Linked DNA regions of Homo sapiens: regions 1, 2, 3, 4, 6 and 7 are each linked to region 5. The links are contacts of gene promoters, found by promoter capture Hi-C in blood cells and fetal thymus (Javierre and others, 2016). All regions are on one chromosome and are shown on one strand. Each heading gives the region's core, a stretch centred on a gene start or on the middle of the fragment in contact. The rest is flanking DNA. Distances are from core to core; before and after follow the strand shown.

Region 1 (3,086 bases), core at 511-3,010, 1.7 Mb after region 5:
CTGATTGTAGACTTGGTTTAAAAAAAAAAAAAGAACTGGAATATATAGATAATTGGCAATATTCTAAGGAAGCAGTGTTCCTATTTTATTTTCCAGATGATGCTACTTTATGTTCCTTTTATTTTTCTTCTTACCACTTATTTTACAAATGACATATATTAACTATAGGATATTTAAAAAGTAGAGACAAGCAAACAAGAACAAAAAAGTGCACGTGTAATTCCACAAATGAGGGGAGAAAATCAGCTAACATTTTCATGTATATTTTCAGACTTTTTTCAACATACATGTACATATAAAATATTTTATAATGTATATTTTTAATTTCGTACATATTTAAACTTTTATTATAAAACAGGAAATTTGTAATATTTTGCTTGATTTAATATCATGAACATTATTTCCTATTACTAAGTCTACCTCTTCACTTTTAATCGTTGACATAATTTACATAATCCCTACCTTTGGTCATTTAAGTGTTTCCAAATGTTCACTCTTATTAACAACTTCAACAAATATCCCCAATATTGCTTTTTTTTTCTTTTTTAAAGTAAGCAGAGAATTGGAATAAATTAGAAATCCAGGGCACTTACTCATCCAACAGATATTTATTGAATACTTATTTGTGCCAGATATTGCATTAACTGGGAGCTGGGAAAACAGAACTGGTTAAGGCTAGATCTCCACTTTTAATTAACTTTCAGTCTCATGGAATAGAAAGATGAGCTGAGGAACTGGAGAGGACAAATCGCTCCTCTCTTTAAAGTAAATGTAGTTCAAGAGAAAGCTGCTGGGTCAGTGGCCAGGTGTGTGTGTGTGTGTGTGTGTGTGTGTGTGTGTGTGTGTGTGTGTGTGTGTGTGTGTGTGTGTGTGTACACATACGTATTAACTAAGCAGTTTCTAGAATTAAAATCCCTAATGTTAATAGGCTTATGCATAAAATAGATTAATCCACAACACCTGCATGAGCCACGATCCTAGGAGCTGCAGAGCCATAAAAGCCGGACACAGTACCCAGCAGCCTCGCCTCGGCTCCCGGCAGAGAACACCCTCTCCCCGGCCTCCCGGCGCTGGCGCGATCCCACCGCGGGGACCGCCGCCCTGGTCCCCGGCCGCTGCACCCCCTTCTCGCGTCCTACGCCTGGCGGCCAAAAACAAAACTGCCTAACCACTTCCACTTGGAGAAGCCCTCCTAGCCGAGAGGGGCATTCTGAAGATCAAGGGCGAGGCTGGAAAACAAACTTTGTTACGTGTTAACTTAGTTGGAGCAAAGCGATTCCAGGAAAGGAGTCTAAAACTGTGCGCAGCGTTTTTATAAAAAAATGTTTCAGTGGATACACGGGGGAGCGGGGCCGTCTATGGCAGGGCTTCAGAGCAAGCAGGAGACTGGCAGGCCGGCGAGAGCAGGTGGCCCGCCGGCCGCATCCCGGCCTCCTCCTCCCCGCTCGCCTGCATTTGGACGACGGCTTCCGCGGCGGCCGGAGGGGAGCATCCTCTACACTGCCAACTCGCATCAATGGGACTTTCCTCGTGGGAACTGCCCCTCCCGGCGGACGTGCCCTCCGGGTCCGGCGTGGGCGGGCGGGTGCCGCGAACTCCTTGCAGACCTTGGGTCGGCTCAGTGCTCCCTCAGCGCTGGGGCCGAGCCTGCACCACCCGCCGCCGTCGCCGCCGAGGGGGCGGGGGAGGTGCCGCGGGGGGCGGGCGCGGCGCGCGGGGAGGGGAAGGGGTTCTCGCGCGATTGGGCGAGGTTTCCGGTGTTGTGACTGAAACCCGTCAATATGGCGGCGATCGGCCGCGGCCGCTCTCTGAAGAACCTCCGAGTACGAGGTAAGCCCGCTGCAACCCTCACTCCCCACCGCCCGGCGCCCGCCACCCCTGGCACTTGCCTTCCCCTGGCCCTGGGTTGGGGAGCGAGCCGGGGCGCTGGCCGGAGCCAGGGCAGCCGCAGCTGGCCTGCGAGCCAATCCTAATTGGGGCTGTGTGTCTGTTTCGCGCAGGGCGGAATGACAGCGGCGAGGAGAACGTCCCGCTGGATCTGACCCGAGGTAACGCGGGGCGCCGCGGGCGCCGCGAGGGCGCGCTGCTGGGGAGGAGCCGGGTCCGGGGCTGGGGGCCAGAGGCAGGGGCGGGCCCCGCACGGGACCGGCGGGGTGCGGGGGCCAGAGCCGGAGCCCCGCCTGCCGGCCCGCGGGAACCGAGCCCGGGGCCGCCTCGCCGGACCCATCCCCCTACCCAGCGCCCGCTTCCCTCGCCCGAGCCCTTCTCCGGGCCTCGGGCTGCTGCGGGTGCGGGGGAGCCCCGAGTGGAACTCGGCAGACCCGGCGACCCTCTGGGCTCGAGCTCCGGCAGAGTGGTTTGCACCTATCCCGGAGTCCGGCAGCCCAAGCTAGGGGCAGCTGGAGGGAGGTAGAGGCTGTTATTTAGGTTGCAGGAGGATGTTTGAGGGAAGAGCGACCACATCCTGCCCTCCCCGTCCCCGGAGCAGAAGCCGGACCTGCTCGGTGCTTGCCGACTGCGTGACTGCTTTCCCCTTTGCCCACCGTCCTGTGGGGACCCGCAGCATTGATAACTTGGTAGTGAAACCTAGAACTGGTCATTACTGCTAAATGTCTGGTTTATGCTGTTTCCCTTCTGCTTCCCTTTCCCGGGCCGCTGGGACTGTAGTTGGCTAAAGACCGCCCCCTCACCCTGCTGCAGGTTCATTGTTTACCTTCTGCAGTGGAGATGGGTTTGTTTACACCTTCCGAACTGGGGAAACTCGGGTGATATTTTTAATGACCTAATCCCGTTACTAGCCAGTGTTTCCTCTATCACTTACAGTACTAGAGTTTATTCGACATTATCTCGTTGAAGATTTAGTAGTTACGTACAAGATTCTTTTCTCTTCCACGGTAAACAGGATTGAGCCTACTGATTCCGACGAAGTCATATTTCACACGGGCTGTAGCTTGGAGTGTAACCCGGTTCAGCTGTACAGAATCAGTTTCTGAGGTCTATAAAACACCTTAGGAAGTAAACAAAAAAACTTGTTGTAGACATTCTGTATGAGATCAGTTTTTTACCCTATGTCGTACCTGACGTAA
Region 2 (2,725 bases), core at 109-2,608, 1.2 Mb after region 5:
GATTTAGATCTGATCACATGGGGCTTCAGTGTGATGTATTCTCAGAGGTTTGGAGGTTTTATCCTATGGATGACACCAACTAACTGAAAGATTCTAGGCTTGTGATGTGTGAGTGCTGGTGGTGGTGGCATAGGTTGCTGTAGCAAGGCTAAGAAACTGAAAACAGAAATCCACTATATTATTTTCCACAAGAGAGTCACTCCCCTTAATTTTAACATAAAGCAGTTAGGGCCATCTCAGAGGAACTCATGCAGGCAGAGGGCATTAAGTGAAAAGAGCAAGTTACCTGTAACAGCCCACACATTTCCCTCCGAGGTACTAAACATAGAAGAGAATGTTTTCTACTTAATTTGCTATTGCTACATTCCTTCCTCTACCTTATTTCAAGTAATTTAGAGCATCTCAGTTGTCTCCTTTTTCAAGCTACTTGTCTGTGGTGCAATCAAAACACATTTCTCAGTATTTATCTGCACAATTCATGGTTTCAATCAAGTGTTGACTTCTTTGATACAAGTAAGTTGATAACCTTGGAAACCTTTGCACTGATTGTAAATAGGGAGCTGAAGTCTCTTTACCACTAACAGGTCAGTACTGTTTGTTTCACACTAATAAATGTACATGTACATATAGATATATATGTGTATCTATATATACATGCATACATATATATAGATATGTATGTATATATACAGGTATATATACATACACAGACATATATACACATATATATTGACTTAATTTTTAAACTTTACTCCTACAAATTTAAGGGAAATACTGTTAATGTTTTAAATTTTATCCTGTGCATTAGCAATACCTGATCGACAGAGTTGTTTTAAGGCTTAAATAATAATAACATATAATGTACTTAACACAGCCTAACCAAAGCAGACACTTGCTCATAACTCCACCCTCCTCACTTCTAGCAGATTAGAAATGGACATCATAAATTTCATACTATATTTGACTGGACAGTATCAGGCAAAAAATAGAAGTCTACTTCAAACTATCTTAAATAAAAAAGGAACTTTTTTGGCTTTTGTAAAAGGAAGTTCAGAAATGGCTAAAGCCAGGTCCTGGATTGGATTAAATATATCAAATCTTTCATTCTCCTCCCTCCTCTTCTTTCTTTTCTTCCTTCCTTCCTCTTCCTTCCTCAGTACTGGCTAGATACTCAGGAAGCTTATCCTCAAGAGTGGCTAGGATGGCTGCCAGCAGCTCTAGACTTAAACTTCACCAGCTAAGCAATTTCAAAATAGAAAACATTTCTTTCCAATAGCTTCATCAAGAATATCCCAAAAGGCTGGCATAACCTAAAAGAAATAGAAATCCTGAAAATCATTAGAAAATTATAATCACAATGGGTACATTATGCCTAGAATACTGCATGGAATTCTGGTAAATTCAAATCAGGAAAAAGAAAGCTGACAAATATTCAACTAAAGGCAATTACTCTGACCCAGAGTATAAAGAAGTTTCCATATTGGGCCATGAAATAAAGATTTGACTCAAACCCAGAAAAATAAGGGCCTGAAGCTTGCACATAACAAGCCTGGGCATAGGAGAATAAATAAGGAAAAAAAAAAAAAAGGCATCTTAGCCTCTTGGGAATATGACCTGGCAAATTGGTAGTGTGTTTGTAAGAAGAAAATGTGTTCTTATTGTTCATCTCCCACTTATGAGTGAGAAAATGTGGTGTTTTGTTTTCTACACATACCGGGGCCTGTCGGGGAGTGGGGGGCAAAGGGAGGGAGAGCATTAGGACAAATACCTAATACATGTGGGCTTAAAACCTAGATGACAGATTGATAGGTGCAGCAAACCACCACAGCACATGCATATCTACGTAACAAGCCTGCACATTCTGCACATGTATCCCAGAACTTAAAGTAAAACAAAAAATAAAAAAAGAATATTCAGTCAAATTTGTCTATCTGCACAAAAAAATAAAAATAAAAATAAGTACATTTTTTAAAAAAGAAAATGTGTGCCTTCCTCCAGACAGACATAGCCGTGTTCCAGAGAGAGGGCTCAGCCAGGAGACTTGGGATGGACTTCAGCCTTTCATTGCGCCCTTGTTCAGCCACCTTTGGAGAGGCACTACCTACATAAACATAGCCAGCTGCTCTGGCTAAGAGAACATACAACACATCATCCGGTACTTGCTTTATGAATTAGTGAGTTTAAATACAAACCAATTTTCATTGCCAAACCCTTGATTATTAGAACTAGGTGAGCATACATTGTTATAAATATATGTAAGTTTCTGGCAAATTTTTACTTTCCACAACAGATGGGAGTAAACTTGCAGAATATATTTTCTTGATATGGTACATGCTAACATATTAAATAGTTTGAAAAGAATTAAGATTAATAAACTCAAGCAGCTACAGGGGTATGTATCTAGTTTGACATAAAATGGGTTATTATGTTTTTGCATATGAACATAACTTCATAAACTCACCAAAAGTTGAGTGGGAGTCCAATGTAACTCACCTGTGATGACAGATGACATCACAGTGATCAGATCCTTCTATACATTTTTTGGTATTGTCATCAGGACCATTGCTTTGACCCATTGTATCCAAAGTGAGTTATTTATACCCCTGTAAGTACCTAGAGGATTACTGGTGGTACACAGAAGGGGTGGAGGTAGTCTATGACTTGCAGGCACTTGGGCCAGGTGAAAGGAAGAAAAGAGGAGGAAGAAGACGGGGAGAGCAATGGT
Region 3 (3,030 bases), core at 295-2,794, 1.5 Mb after region 5:
CGCAACCCAAAGTGAAGAGCACCATTATAACAAAGGTGAGAAAAGATGCTCATCTTATGACAGAGTCTTGTTTCTGTGCAGTTATCAGAAAAAGTGAGCTAAGAGGTGTGATGTGCTTATATTGTTTAATCCTGATTACTAAATACCAAATGCGTTTTCTTCAAAGCTCTAAAGGAGAAGAAATGGAATGGGAACAAGGGGGAGGGTTGAGGGCAGGGAGGATATCCCACATTGTCATATTCCTTAGAGTAAGGTTTCAAAATATTATCTATTTCTCTTTGTGGAATCTTCCATAGCTTTCCATTTCTAATGTATAGCTTTCACTTTCCTCAAATCGAACTCTGGATCTCTCATTGACTAGAAGCTGCCACATGCCTTTTTTTATTTTTTATTTTTTATTTTTTTGAGACAAGGTCTTGCTCTGTCACCCAGGCTAGAGTACAGTGGTGCATTCATGGCTCACTGCAGCCTTGACCTCCCGGGCTCAAGCAATCATCCCACCCCAGCCTCCAGAGTAGCTAGGACTACAGGCACTCACCACTGTGCCTGGCTAATATTGCATATTCTTTTGTAGAAATGAGGTCTTGCTTTGTTGCCCAGGCTAGCCTCAATCACCTGGCCTCAAGCAATCCTCCTGCCTCAGCTTCTCCAATTGCTGGGATTACAGGCCTGAGCCACCCATTGTGCCCAGCTGCTGCCACCTGTCTTGGTTAGCTCGTTGAGTTCTTCCTCTTCTTAGCAGTTTTCACACAGATCTTTTCACATGCTGGGAAGGAAGTCTCTAGAAAACCCCACAGATAGCCTCATTCCTCCACCCCCACTTCACTCCATGTAGACAATAAGCTTTCAGTTTCTAACATCATGTTGAGTGTAGAAAAGAAATTTACCACCCAGGAGCGTGTGTCTGTGTCTGTCTATGTTTTCGTGTTTGTTGGGAGTGACACGAAGGCTGAGGGAAAAAATAAAGCATAACATTTCTATTTTTCGCTTGACAAACAGTATCTTTCCCAGACATCAAAGATTTTTATTTCAGACTTCAAATGTCCTTAGCAAAATAAAGTTTTTGTTGGGGTGTACATGAAAATAGAACAACCATAAGAAATAGGCCGGGCGCAGTGGCTCACGCTTATAATCCCAGCACTTTGGGAGGCCGAGGCAGGCGGATCAAGAGGTCAGGAGATCTAAACCACGGTGAAACCCTGTCTCTGCTAAAAATACAAAAAATTAGCCAGGCGTGGTGGCGGGCGCCTGTAGTTCCAGCTACTCGGAGAGGCTGAGGCAGGAGAATGGCGTGAACCTGGGAGGCGGAGCTTGCAGTGGGCCGAGATCGCGCCACTGCACTGCAGCCTGGGCGACAGAGCGAGACTCCGTCTCAAAAAAAAAAAAAAAAGAAAAGAAAAGAAAAAGAAATAGTAGCTGAAATTTAGGTCTCTCTTTGAGGTTGGAGGAACAGAAAAAATGAAAGAACTTATATTGTATTATGAAGTGTACATCAACTATTAGCCTAAGAACCAAATAAGCCACTAATAAGATATCTATGAAAACATTTTTCAATTATCTACAAGTTCGTTAGTCAAAATGTAAATTCCTGAAAAACTGTTTTCTAATTTGGTATTTTCAGGTCATGCAGGCTGAGTGAATTATCCTAAACAAATGTAAGTTAAATTTGCTATAAAAAATTGTAAAATAGAATAAGAAAAATAAGTGGTTTTAGGACCATTTGTTGTTCTGTACTATCTACATCTCACTCTATATTCTCTACATCCTATCGCCATTCTATCCACATCAAGAACTCAAAAACATATAGCAAAACAAACCTCAGAAACACATAGAAACTCATATATATTTATATGTATGTATTTATACTAGAGACAGGCTCTCGCCACGTTGCTTAGGATGAACTCAAACCCTTGGGCTCAAGCGGTCTTCCCACATCAGCCTCCTGAGTAGCTAGGACCACAGGAATGCACTATCATGCCTGGCTAGAAAGTCGTATTTAACTTCCTTATCCATTTATGCTTAAGCCCTCAGAGGCCATGGCAAAGTCAAAACTATTTGTACAGGAGCTATTTTGTAGGATAACCAGGAAAAGAACATTGAAGGTTCGAATTTGTAGAATGATGATGATTGTCCCGCTCCTGATTCTAAAAACAGGGGGTACACAAAAATCCAACTGATGCACATGCCTTATAGAGAATACAAGGCGCCAGCATTTGGGAGGTGGACCATCACCATCAAAGCTTTACTACTTGCTAGGCTATCTTGCTTCTTCTGCTCTAATTCACTCTGGAAGAGAGAACACAGTAGAAACAGGAGAAGGATCCGGATCATCAGTGCTCGGAATAACACCAGACCAGGAGATAATGCACAGCGATATCTGTGGTGGTTTTTCTGCCAAGGTCCGAGGGGACCTGGCGGGGCACACACACCACCCAGAAAGTCCCCATTTAAGTCAGGTGTTTCCTTCCACATGACACCTCACAATGCAAGGCCATAGCAGACAGGGCATCGCTGGGGTTGTTGCAGTTCCACCTCCACCTTCACAAGTTACTGAAAAACATACAGGGGTTGTCACAATCAGGGCTACCACCGCTGCTTCCGCCACCAGGTCCTCCTACCCATGCCTTCGCCCAGAGCCTGCAGCAAAGGGCTCCCGCCCCAAGAACTTAATTTGCGGCGAGAGTCAAGTTCCCACATCCTGTTGAAGAGGGGCCTGGTGCTCTCTCCAGCCTCCGAGGCTCAGCCCACTGGAATGCATCACAGCCCATTTGCAATGAAATAGATATTCAATTGGCAAGTGCTTAAATCACAACTGCAGGTCAACAAAGGAGCTAAGAAAATCATCTCCTCCACTCCCATCTGTATGACCAATCAAGGTGAAATTTAAGTAAACGCAGTCCATCAGCCAGTACGTTCAATGCATATTATGGAAAGAGATGCGCCAGGATCAGGGATGTGTCTGCTTGTTTGCCGGGGAGGGAATTGCTGTTGAGGAGGAAAAATAAAACCAGGTTCCTGCTTTTACATCTC
Region 4 (2,803 bases), core at 205-2,704, 1.2 Mb after region 5:
ATATGTCCTCCATCGCCAGATGCAAGGGAAGCTTGAAAAGCAATATGTAGCTTTACCAGCATGGAGAGCAGAAGGCATTCAGATAGGAGATCAGAAATAACTGTCACATAAACCAACCAGCAGTCTACAGATACCTGGTCTGTAAGAATGTTGAAGGGATGATGATTTGGGTGAAGGAGGAAAGAGAAGCTCTTATTGGGCGCCTACTATATGTGAGGCAGTGAGACTGCTAGTTCCATACATCTTCTCATTTCATCTTCCCAATAGCCCTTTGAGGTTACTATCAGCTTTTCCATTTTTGCAGAGAAGAAAACTGAGGTTCAGAAAATTTTGAAGTCACATTCTAGTACAAAGGTCTACTGAACGATGAAGAGAGGAATAAAATTTAAATGTTTCAAAATCCTAACACCATGCTCTTTCTAGTATTCCAAAATGATTATTATTAGACCTAGGAGGTCATTCCTAGTTGACTTTTTCCCCTAGCAGCCACTCTTCTTCCGAAGATATTTTATTCTAACAGTGTTCACCAAAACTCAGAGCACTTCACCAAAATCATAAATCACTCCAGGGCTGTGGCTATGGGAGTAGCTGAAATGCCTTAGTTCCATCACAAACGTCATGAGATGCAGGGCCTGGTTAACAAAATGCAATATGCAGTTAAAATGGGAATGTGACACAACAAGCCTTGCCCCTGCCATAGTGAGTGGGATTCCTGGACTTCTTACAGCAAATGTTATCCTTTTCACTAAGAATCATTGGATAAATTGTATTTGTCGGTGACAAGCACTAGCAGGAATGCAGCTCAATTATTTGAAGCTGACATCAGGAATTATATCAGCTTTATGTCTTCAGATCTGCCCTTTCAGACATGAGTTTCCAGATATATTGCTGAGAGATTTTTTTACAGAGAAGAAATTCCATTGGTGGAAGTTGGCTTATCACTGAAAGAAGGCAAATCTTTTATCAAAAGTTTCCACAAACATAGGAAAATTTAGCTAAGAAGAAACAATGTAATTCAAAAGTCTGTCCCAGAACTAAAATAATTTTTTTATAATCTGAATTGTATCTTCTTCAACCTCATCTCCTTCCCCTTGAACTAATCTAGTGCTTTATATCCTTGTTGGATTTATATAATTTAAACTCATCAGTTTACTTGTGTTTTATGAAAGCAATGGAGAAAATTAAAAATTCAGCCTATTCAACAAAACGTATTGTGCAAGACAAAACACATTTGAGATTTGTATTTCGCTCTAATCAAATGTAATGGTTGTAGGAACACAAGTTAACCAACAGCAAGAAGATAAAAAATTCTTAAAAATAATCCATTCACCTGCAGTGAAAGAATGTTCTGCACAGTAAAAATACAAAATAGGATTTTATAATTTGTATATGCTTAGGATAATAGGAATTACTGAATTTATTCATCCATGAAAATAAGCACTGGTCCATTTACCTGTGGCTCTGAAGCCTGGTGAAGCAGGAATGAGGATACCAACCCCTGAGGGAGATTCAGCTCCTTCAAAATGAAGACAAAAGAAATCTTTGAGGTATAACAACTGTTTTAAAAAAATTAAAAAGAAGAGAACTATTTTCAGCCTGTTTAGAACAAAGATTGGATTTAAACCCAGTTTATGCATCACTCATATCCAATGAACTTGGCTCATAACACCCCCACGCTGACACTTGACCACTTGCTTTGATTTCTAGCCAGCAAGAGTAGCCCCAGAGACAGGTATCAAACTCCAGCAGAGCCACCCCCATAGATCTCATGTGTGGCAGCAACTGCCAGGATGAGAAAGTTCAACCGTGCTCTGGCCTTACAGGATCCATTTAGCCTTTGGTTCCCCTCAAGGCTTCCTGGCAAGCAGAATACAACCTGAAACTGCAAGAAAGCCATTCCCTTAGCCAGTGAACTTGGAGTCATGCACGACCTGAGATGAGGAAAAATCCAGCAGATAAGTGGTTTCACCATTTTTCTTCCTCTATAGACAATTCTGATGCACAGGAGTTCTGTACAACTTTCCTAAAGATGTTCTGCAAGATAAGCAACCAGCCATGTATATTGGAAAGCTATGGCCAGTTCTGTAATGTATCTGCTGTCTTTGACTCTAGGTTTCCTGAGACTGCACCCCCATCCTCATGAAAGCACTAGCTTGTAAGTTCTTGTCATGCTTCATTTCCTGAGGAATCCATGTTGATACAAAGTATACATATGTAACAAACCTGCACATTGTGCACATGTACCCTAGAACTTAAAGTATAATAAAAAAAGTAACAATTAAAAAAAAAGAAATAATAATCATATTTGCTCCCAGTAATCGTTTATGAGGTGGCGGAGGGGCAGGGCTTTAATGGTAGGCATTCCTGAAGTCTAAACAGCGTGGGAATGAGTCTGGCAGAACCCATGGATTCTAAGGAGGTCTAAGTCTGAGCCAGTGTGAAGTAAATAGGCTAACCCCCATCCTACGAAAATGTAGGTGGAAATGAGAATCACATTTTGCCATGCCCTATTAAGACAGACCAGAGAGAGAACGGGCAGGTGTTCTCCTGAGAGGTTGTGGTACGTTTAAGCGCTCAAGTAACTCTGAACAGGTGCATTTTATTAGAAATAAGAACAGACCACGCTTTCAGAAAGAATCGGGGAAGCAAGGAAGAAGAAGAACAAATGTGAAGAAGAACTTCCTTACAAATCTTGAGGTCTGGGCGCTCTGAGTTCTGACAGGTGTTAGGAGCAGTTCAGGCTTCAATAGACATAAATATTTTGGAGAATCTGCCTGAGGAACAAAGGAAATTTCCACAAAAT
Region 5 (3,003 bases), core at 340-2,839:
TTCCTTGTTTTTCTTGAAGTTACAGATTCCCTTTGTTCATTTTCAAGAAAGGTTTGTCAAATACCCAAGTCCGAATAACCGGTTTGTCACTCATCTTAGTAAAATTTGTGTTCCAGGAAAAAAAAGTATTTACTTCAGTTTATAATGCCATCTCACAGTAGCTCTTCTTTGATACGTCATACTTCAATATGCAGCAGAAGTACTTTGTGAGGACTTCCAAGTTTTTACAAAGAATATTAAGTGTCGGAGTGGTTATAATAAAGTAACTTTTACAACTTCATCAGGGATATTCTCTGGTGACAGCGTTCATTTTTCCATTTTTTTTTTTTTTTTTGAGACCGTGCCTTGCTCTGTCATCCAGGCTGGAATGCAGTGGCATGACCTCGGCTCACTGCAGCCTCGACCTCCCAGGCTCAAGGGATCCTCCCACCCCAGCCTCCCGAGTAGTTGGGATTCAGGTGCGTGCCGCCAGGCCTGGCTAATTTTTGTATTTTTGGTAGAGATGGGGTTTCGCCATGTTGGCCAGGCTGGTCTCGAACTCCTGACCTCCCAAAGTGCTAAGATTACAGGCGTGAACCACCGCGCCCGGCCCATTTTTCTTACTGTGAGCGTGTGGTGGTGAAGAGCTCCAGTACGGTTTGGTGTCATTACTGTAATTCCTGTGGAGGGGCCAGCACCTTGACCTACCATTGCTTTTCCACCATCAGTGCAAATGTCAGCATTGTGCAAAGGGCAAATCACGTCTTCATATTAGTATGAAAATAATTTTGGCTTTGAAAGGGTGTCATTGACCCTCAGGACAATCGTTGGTCGACATCAGTGGTTCTCAACGGGGCAGGGTGGGAGGGATAGTTTTTCTTCCAGGGGAAATTTCACTGGGGAAACCATTGGCTGTCACAATCGACTGGTGGTGACATCCCGTGGACAGAGACCAGAGATGCTGCTAAGCACCCTACAATGCACAGAACACCCCGTCCCCCAACAAAGCATTATCCAGTTTGAAATGTTAATGGTGCTGAGGCTGAGAAAGTATGACTTCCAAAAATGAGTCTTTTGGGCAGGAGAGTTGGAGAAATTAACAATCTTGATTACCTTTATTACATGTGCTCGTTTATTTTCAAGACATGATGCACAGCTACGTTCTGGCTGTAATTCTGCCTTCTGGGTCCAACTCACTTGTAACTTTAACGTGAAGCCTGCAGTTCAGCCTCGAGCCTCCCTGACTAGCCTCCCCGCCCGGCCGCCTCGAGCCCTTTATAACCGAATTTTGCCTCTCTGTTCTCTGCGTCTGGCCGACCTCATCAGCTAGGCTATAAACCCCTTCGGGGAAGGAGCATATCCTAATCCTTTGAATCCCGTAAAATAAGTTTTCCCCTCACCTTGTTCCCCACTGACGGGACGCGAGGCTGCGCGGTACCGCGGGGGCGGCTCCTCTCGGTGCGCTCTTCAGCCCGCGCAGCCTCATTTTCCCGCGCTCGTGCGCTGCGGTCACTCAGGGCTGCTGCTAGAGGGCGCGCCCAGCCGCGTGGCCCTGACTACTACAAATCCCAGAAGGTCATGCAGTGGGGGCGGCCGCGGTGACTTCTGGGATTTGTGGTCCCGGAGAAGAGATTGGCGGAGGGGAAAGACTGAGTCGTCTTTCCTTTGCCCGCTTCTGTGGACTGTTCGAACGCCCAGGGGTGGGCCAAACCCGTTTCTTAGGAAACCAGGAATCCAGGGAAGGCAGGTAGGAATTTGGGCGTGATAATTTCTGCTTCCAGTGGGAAAGAATGTAAACACGGGGCCTTGGGAGCCGTTATCGGGTAACTGGGGCTGCCCGGTCGGCGGTGGAAGCTGAGGAAGAGGAGGAAAAAGAGGCGAGTGGGTGTTGTGATTAGGGGAGAAAGGACCTTCGGAATAGGAGTTGAAACCCGACGGGATCCGGCAGAGCCTGGTCGCTAGGGTTGGTCTCCAGGGACAAGCGAGTCTGAGGGTCGGGCCCGCCGTGGCACCTTCGCGGAGCTGCGCGGCCGCAACCTTCCCTGAGCGGTGGGACGGGCGGGACGAGCCGGCCGCTCCCCGCTGGAGAGGTGTCTGCGGCCCGGGGCGGTCCGTGAACGCGCAGGTGACGTCCGGGGCAGCCTTTCTGAGCGTTTTTATTATTGTTGACCGATGAAGGGAAAGTCACTAATACTGGTTTTTCTCTTGCGGTGGCGTTTTTGGGTAAATCGTTTCTTGGATTCCTCACCTCTGAATACCTCCTTTTACCCAGAAGGATGCTGTTGTGATTTCCTGATCTTGTTCATGTAGTGGTTTTTCCCTTTGGGTGCTGCATCCTCAGACACACTCAAGACAAGCCCTCTCTGGCGGCTGGGTAAATGTGAAGCCGTCGCCAGTTGTTGAGCGCCTACTATAGGGATCTTTGTAACAGTACAGGAATTTAGAATACAGCGTCGTTGTTTAGAATCGTTATGCCATTCCTGAAATATAATCCTATATAAAAGGTTGAATTTGTCTGGTTTCATGAGTTTAACATGAAACCGGTGTGGATTGTGGTTTACTCTCATGGTTTCTTACTCTGGTAAAAAAATGTTAAGTCTAGGATGTTGAAGCCTCGTGCTTCTAACTAGACTCAGGAAAGCCTCCTTCATAAGAAGTTTTAATTTCATGTTCAGATAGTCATAGAGGAACAATAAACTCGTTCGGCTTAAGATATCTGAAACAACTGGGAATGTTAAATTTTCTAATGCAGAAAGTGCTTTGCATGCTCTAGGATTCACATACCTTTTTAAGCCTGGCTAAGTTTTCTTCAAAGCTTAAGTCCTCCAGAAAGCCTCAAGTGTCTCTTCTCTGATGTCATGGCATCCTTTGTTTACTCTCTTGTAGCACATATCGTGTATGAAATTGACTGTACTCTGTGGTTTCCAGACACTTTTGAAGAAAATATAAAACTTTGCTAATGGCCTTGATAACAGATTCATGCTTTTACACAGTAGTGGGCCCTTGATACTACTGTTTGGTATC
Region 6 (2,968 bases), core at 173-2,672, 1.4 Mb after region 5:
TAAATTGAATGAACTAGACTTCTCTTTGGAGGTCCTTCCTTCTTTAGGTCATGAAGGAAGGATAGTTTAGGTCAACCTGCTACATCAATAGATTGGGTAAGGGGAACTCTCATGGGATAAAATAACTAACATTGTTGAGCACTTGCGCTAAGCATTTTATTAGATGCTCTACATTTATCATCTTCATCAATCCTCACATCAGCCCTAGGAGATACTATTACTGACATCTTTAATAATGACTTGATATTTAATACATTGATATTCAGTTCAAAAATTCTAACCACAAGTTTCTTTCTTCTCCATACCTCTCTAGGAACTTGGTCTGCAGACCATCCAGAGGAATAAAAAGGTTGGCCTTAGTAGTCAAAAACAAAGCTGATAGCCAGACACGTTCTGATTTCTGCCCTTGTTCCAGCTTTGACGTATTATCTGTTGCCTTATTTCTCATTGCCTCTTCTACTTGTAAAATGCTTTTCACTTTCTGTCTAGGTTAAAGCTAAACTGAATCTATGGCTTTAAATAAATTAAGATCCTAAACTCTCTAGCTTAAGTGTAAATGAAGTACAGTAGTTTCCCTACTGAACCCTGCCTCTTGTGTCCCTGGAACCTTCTAGAACACCTGCCTTCTACCCTCTGGTTGGGAGATGCAGCCACCACATCCCTTCATATCATACTGTTTTGAATAAATTTTCAAATCCTTATTGTTCAGAGTTGTTTGGGGGTTCTGTTTCAGAGCATAAAACCTAAAGGTTATAGTAGAACAAGGCACCTTCTTAAAAGAAATCTTGCTTCAGACCATCAGTTACAGAGAATTTCTAAAGTAAAATTGAAGCAACTACAACTTCTCCTTAGACACTTTGGAATCTAACCACTTAAGGACCTTTTTAAAGAGATAGCTTCTCTTCTTTCTGAAGATCAATTTCTCCCAAGGCCAAGATTGTCCTTTTCTCCCATTTCTTGCTAGCTATTGCAAATGAGGGAAGAACATTATTCATCTCTCCTCCCCTTTTTTTTCTGATTCTTTTTTCAGTCAGTTTTGCTCCTGGGTTCAAGTAGTATTACCACCCTTTCACAAGCAACAGACTCTCACAGGGCAAAAAAAAAAAAAAATCTAATGATTCACAGACAGATCTGGAGCCTCTCTTCATTCTCAGTAATTGCTAGTCCCAAGAACTAGAATTGCAAATGGGCACAACCTATATCCTTCCTGTGGAAGAGGAGGCCACTCTCTTGAGCTGAAGTTCCAGAAGAGCAGTTAATGTTCAAGAGAAATTGAACTCAACTCAGCAACAAAGGACTCTATTTTGAAGAGCAACATATCACAAAGCTAAATGTGATTGTGCCAAACACATTAGGTGCTTATTTGGGGTCATGCTAGGCCTTTATCAAGTAACTGGAAAACTTTTCTTGCAGCCACAATCTCAATGTCGTTAGTAGGAAGATAAGAGGGGAGAAAAAGCTGTAGAACAAATGTTTGGGGTTACCATTGAAAATCTAATGTCTGCAATATTTTTCTCCTCACAACTTGGAAACGTTCCCAGTTCATTTTCAGTCCTGTTGTGAGCACAGTTCTGAAGGGTTTATTATTGTCAAAATAAGTTTTGTTTTGTTTTGTTTATGTTGGGTTTTTAATGTTGTCTCTTGACCCTTAATGCTCAGGTTCTTGTGGGAGTTAATCAGCCACATCCAATGTTACCTTGAGGGGGAAGAAGAGGGTGATGCTCAGAAGCTAAACAAGACAGGGGCCACATGACCCTCTATTGATTAGCCCCAAGTAGAAAGTCCTGTGGTTTTATGTTTAATGGTAATAGTTGATCATATATGGCATAATTTTCTATCAGCTTCCTACTCAGTCACTATAAACACAGACTTGAAATAGTACTTTAAATGTCCAAATACCTAAATGTGCTAAACTGGAGGTAACTATTTCTAGGTAGTTGAATTTTTGAAAGTCATGATCAGCCACACAACTGTTTTGTACATACTTATTTTCTCATGCACTTTTCTGTATGCAAATAAAGCTATAAATTTACTCATTTCAATAAACTGGAGTGGCAGAATATCATGTGGTACCATCGGTTTATTCTACCTGCTTTGAGTTGACATTAGAGGCAAGCTATAAAACATACCAGTCTGAAGTGGAGAAAATGTTAGCTATAATAGATTCTGGATTGTCACAACAGTGAAGAGAAAGTGGAAATCCATGAAATAGGACCGTGAGTAAATTACCGTCTGATCTATTTCACACCTTCTTCTGTCTCAAACCCACACACACTCCCTTTCCGGGAGTGTAAGGAAGACTAGTAGATAAGACCTGTACCAGAACAACCTCAGCTGACATCCACTATAAAATCACTCATTAGTGCACTATTGGTTCATGCCTTTTACCCTTGGCTGCCTCTTGTTTTTTACTCAGTCATATTTGACCTCACCAAGACACGACTGTGTGGACTGCTCTAGGCTGGCACAGGCCCCTCTGGAGAGCTGTTGCATGAGGTGAGTGGGCTGATGAACAGATGTTTTTAGCATTAGGGCGCTCTTAAACTGTCTCACCTAGTATAAAAGTTCAAGGTTCTCATTCACTGCAAAAAGACCTGCAACTACAAGAAAGAGAATCCCAAGGTGGGCTTTGCATGGATATAGAAGTCTTGGTATTAAACCTAACTTTTCTAAGGAATAAGACATTTTGGGGTAGGATTATCTATTGGTGTATAATATTTTGGAATGTTCCTTATTACTGCCTTACCTTTCTCCTTGACTGAAACATTTGGTCTCTTTCTAACAATAGTGAGGTGGAATAGAAATACACTCCATACAAAAGCAGGTTCCAGGGGAATTGAAAGTAAGCCACAGATGAGCTAGAGAAGGCTGCTGATAAGAATATGTTGCACAAATTATCTGGCTTATCCAGGTGCTCTGCCGTGCGTCTAACCCGTTGAGCCTGTGTGTTATCTCCACGTGACTTAAT
Region 7 (3,123 bases), core at 462-2,961, 1.6 Mb after region 5:
AATAGGCTTACTCAGCAGTTAAACACATGCTACCAATTGCAAAGGTTTATTAGCACCGTAAGAAAGTTACACAGAGACACATCTAGTTTGACTAATTTTTTTTCACTAAAATATCCATAATAAGGGAAGAGAATTAACATTTATAAAGTGTCTTTTGTGAGTTTGTGATGGGCACTGTTGTTAAATAATATAATTGTCATAACTTTATTGTGGAGTAGAATTTTTGCCTTTTTACAGAGTAAGCTGATGCCCTGGAGGATTAAGTGATTGTGCTAATGAAATTAAAAAGTGATTACAAACGTCCAGTGACGGAGAGGGTATGAGGAGACAAGACTTCATTGAGGCACATTGCTGAAGCCTCACTGGAGGACAATTGGCAGATCCTACAGGAAAATAAAATATGCAAATCTTTCATCTCAGCAATTCTACTTTTAGATCTCTGTCCTAGAACACTTCCCCCCACCACTGCCCTGCAGTTACACAGAAAAGCACAAGTAGATGCTTAACATTACATTGTTTTTAGTCAAGGGGGAAGACTGAACAAACCTGGACTATCCCTAACACAGAATACTCTGGAACATTTACAAAGAACAAGATAGGCCCAGAATAGGCAGCACAATATTCAGCATGCAGAGCAATTTAGGTTTTTAATCAGATATTCCTGTGCATACATACAAAGGTCAGTAAACACTTAGAAAAAGTTCTGCAAAGATAAACAATGGTAGTTTCTGGGAAAGAGAGGGCAAGGAGGAGTGAGAGGTCATCTGAAACTCTACTTTATCTGTGTTGTAAAGCTTCTTCCAGAAATGAGTCATGTATTATTTGTGTAATAAAAAATAACTTAAAACAAAAACAAAAACAAGGGAGAGAGAGAGAGAGACAGAGAGAGAGAGAGAACTACCCAAGATCACACCTCTAGTAGAAGCTTGATCCCCGCATCATCTCATTTCAAAACGCTCGCTCTCTCCACTGTGCCCCACTACTTCTTTGTGGCTTTTATATTTTTTTCCTTCTGTGTCTTTTCTTCTTTTAGGTTGGTGCAAAGTTAATTGCAGCTTTTACCAAAAGTAATGGCAAAAACCGCAATTACCTTTGCACCAACTTTATATATCTTTCTCTCCTCTAAAACCTGATTTATCATCTTATGTTTATGTGCTATATTTTGACTCAGGGTCCCTCCTTTCTTTTTTTATTTATATAAATTTAAGGGATAAAGTGCAGGGGTTTTTTTTCATGGATACCGTGTGTAGTAATGAAGTCTGGGCTTTTATTATAACCATCACCAGAATAGTGTACATTGTACCCATTAATTAATTTCCAATCCCTCACTCTTGCCAACCCTCCCACCCTTCCCAGTCTCCAGGGTCTATTATTTCACACTCTATGTCCGCGTCTATATTTAATTTAACTCCCACTTACAAGTGAGAACAGGTGCTTTTTGACTTTCTGTTTCTCAATTATTTCATTTAAGATAATGTCCTCTACCTCCATCCATGTTACTGCAGAAGACATAATTTTATTTTTTTATGGCTGAGTAGTATTCCACGTATACCACATTTTCTTTATCAGTGTCATCCATTTTATAAGTTTCATCCATTGATGGACACTTAGGTTGATTCTATGACTTTGCTATTGTGAATAGTACTGTGATAAACATACAAGTGCAGGTGTCTTTTTGGTAAAATGATATCTTTATTTCTTTTTTTTTTTTTTTATGAGACGGAGTTTCACCTTGTTGCCCAGACTGGAGTACAACGGCACAATCTTGGCTCACCACAACCTCCACCTCCTGGGTTCAAGCTATTCTCCTGCCTCAGCCTCCCGAGTAGCTGAGATTACAGGCACCTGCCACCAGGCCCGGATAATTTTGTATTTTTAGGACAGAAGGGGTTTCACCATGTTGGTCAGGCTGGTCTTGAACTCCTGACCTCAGGTGATCTGCTTGCCTCAGCCTCCCAAAGTGCTGGGATTAGAGGCATGAGCCACTGCTCCTGGCCGATTTCTTTTCTTTTGGTTGAATATCCAGTAGTAGGATTGCTGAATCTTACAGTAATTCCATTTTTAGTTGTTTGAGAAATTTCCATACTGTTTTCTCTAGAAGCTGTACTAATTTATATACATTCCCACCAACGGTGTATAAGCATTCCCTTTACTCGACATCCTTGCCCACATCTCTTATTATTTTATTTTTTAATAATAGCCATCCTGACTGCTGTACGATGATATCTCATTGCGGTTTTAATTTGCAATTCTCTGGTGATTAGTGATGTGGAGCACTTTTTCATATTCTTGTTGGCCACATGTGTGTCTTCTTTTGAAAAATATCTGTTCAATGTCCTTTGCCCACTTTTTAATGAAATTATTTTGGGGGTTGTGAGTTGATTGTAGATTCTGGATATGAGTCCTTTGTTGGATGCATAGCTTGCAAATGTTTTCTCCCAATCTGCAGATTGTCTGCTTATTCAGTTGATTATTTCTTTTACTGACAGAAGCTTTCTAGTTTAGTTAAATCCCATTTGTCTATTTTTGGTTTTGTTGTATTTGCTTTTGAAGTCTTAGCCATGAATTTTTGCCTAGGCTAATGACCATAAGTTTTTCCTAGGTTTTCTTTTAGTATTTTTATAGCTTCAGATCTTACATTTAAATCTTTACTCCATCTTGCATTAATTTCTTGTGTATGGTGAGAGATAGGAGCCCAGTTTCATTCTTATGCATATGGCAGTCAAATTTTCCCAGCACCATTTATTGAATAGAGTATCATTTCCCCAGTGTACATTTTTGTCGACTTTGTCAAAGATCAGTTGGCTGTGGGTATGTGGCTTTCTTTCTGGGCTCTCTATTCCATTCCATTGACCTATGTGTCTATTTTTATACCAGTGCCATGCCGTTTTGGTTGCTATAGCCTTGTCGTATAATTTGAAGACAGGTAATGTGATGGCTCCAGCTTTGTTCTTTTTGTTTAGGATTGCTTTGTCTACTCAGGGCTCTTTTTGCTTCCATATGAATTTTATGATTATTTTTTGTAAGCAATGGCAACAATAGTCATTGCCATAGCAAAAGTAGCAAATATTTAACTTAACTGAGTACCTTCTCTTGTCACATGTCTGTATATGTAGTTGTGCT

The links. The method cuts DNA at HindIII sites, captures the fragments that hold promoters and counts their contacts. A CHiCAGO score of 5 or more calls a contact.
Region 1: a contact is called between the fragment with the promoter of RICTOR here and the fragment with the promoter of TTC33 in region 5, in 7 of 17 cell types (total CD8 T cells, total B cells, fetal thymus and 4 more). The highest score is 10.3, in total CD8 T cells.
Region 2: a contact is called between a fragment that was not itself captured here and the fragment with the promoter of TTC33 in region 5, in 3 of 17 cell types (monocytes, M2 macrophages and total B cells). The highest score is 10.2, in monocytes.
Region 3: a contact is called between a fragment that was not itself captured here and the fragment with the promoter of TTC33 in region 5, in 2 of 17 cell types (monocytes and naive CD8 T cells). The highest score is 7.3, in monocytes.
Region 4: a fragment that was not itself captured here is called in contact with the fragment with the promoter of TTC33 in region 5 in 10 of 17 cell types (monocytes, M0 macrophages, neutrophils and 7 more); the score reaches 16.4 in monocytes.
Region 6: a fragment that was not itself captured here is called in contact with the fragment with the promoter of TTC33 in region 5 in 1 of 17 cell types (monocytes); the score reaches 6.2 in monocytes.
Region 7: a fragment that was not itself captured here is called in contact with the fragment with the promoter of TTC33 in region 5 in 1 of 17 cell types (fetal thymus); the score reaches 5.0 in fetal thymus.

What each region holds. Positions count from the first base shown.
Region 1 is chr5:39,073,073-39,076,158 of GRCh38, reverse strand. RICTOR (RPTOR independent companion of MTOR complex 2) reads left to right here and starts at 1,760. Exons shown (of 38, transcript NM_152756.5): 1 at 1,760-1,830; 2 at 2,001-2,048. The coding sequence starts at 1,782. RefSeq lists enhancers at 1,348-1,874, 2,401-2,927 and a silencer at 1,563-2,462. The HindIII fragment of the contact is 5,742 bases long and covers 1-3,086 here.
Region 2 is chr5:39,565,574-39,568,298 of GRCh38, reverse strand. No RefSeq gene overlaps it. Among named protein-coding and RNA genes, the nearest start is that of LINC02104, 47 kb to the right of the region's middle. The HindIII fragment of the contact is 354 bases long and covers 1,182-1,535 here.
Region 3 is chr5:39,209,683-39,212,712 of GRCh38, reverse strand. All of the region lies in intron 1 of FYB1 (FYN binding protein 1), which reads left to right. Among named protein-coding and RNA genes, the nearest start is that of FYB1, 8.4 kb to the left of the region's middle. The HindIII fragment of the contact is 1,397 bases long and covers 846-2,242 here.
Region 4 is chr5:39,583,043-39,585,845 of GRCh38, reverse strand. No RefSeq gene overlaps it. Among named protein-coding and RNA genes, the nearest start is that of LINC02104, 64 kb to the right of the region's middle. The HindIII fragment of the contact is 2,841 bases long and covers 34-2,803 here.
Region 5 is chr5:40,754,547-40,757,549 of GRCh38, reverse strand. It overlaps TTC33 (tetratricopeptide repeat domain 33), which reads left to right and starts at 1,589. Exons shown (of 5, transcript NM_012382.3): 1 at 1,589-1,726. RefSeq lists an enhancer at 1,566-1,715. The HindIII fragment of the contact is 9,414 bases long and covers 1-2,796 here.
Region 6 is chr5:39,370,771-39,373,738 of GRCh38, reverse strand. DAB2 (DAB adaptor protein 2) reads left to right here. Exons shown (of 15, transcript NM_001343.4): 15 at 314-2,062. Among named protein-coding and RNA genes, the nearest start is that of C9, 7.8 kb to the right of the region's middle. The HindIII fragment of the contact is 7,648 bases long and covers 1-2,968 here.
Region 7 is chr5:39,165,029-39,168,151 of GRCh38, reverse strand. The region is part of intron 2 of FYB1 (FYN binding protein 1); the gene reads left to right. Among named protein-coding and RNA genes, the nearest start is that of FYB1, 53 kb to the left of the region's middle. The HindIII fragment of the contact is 1,567 bases long and covers 928-2,494 here.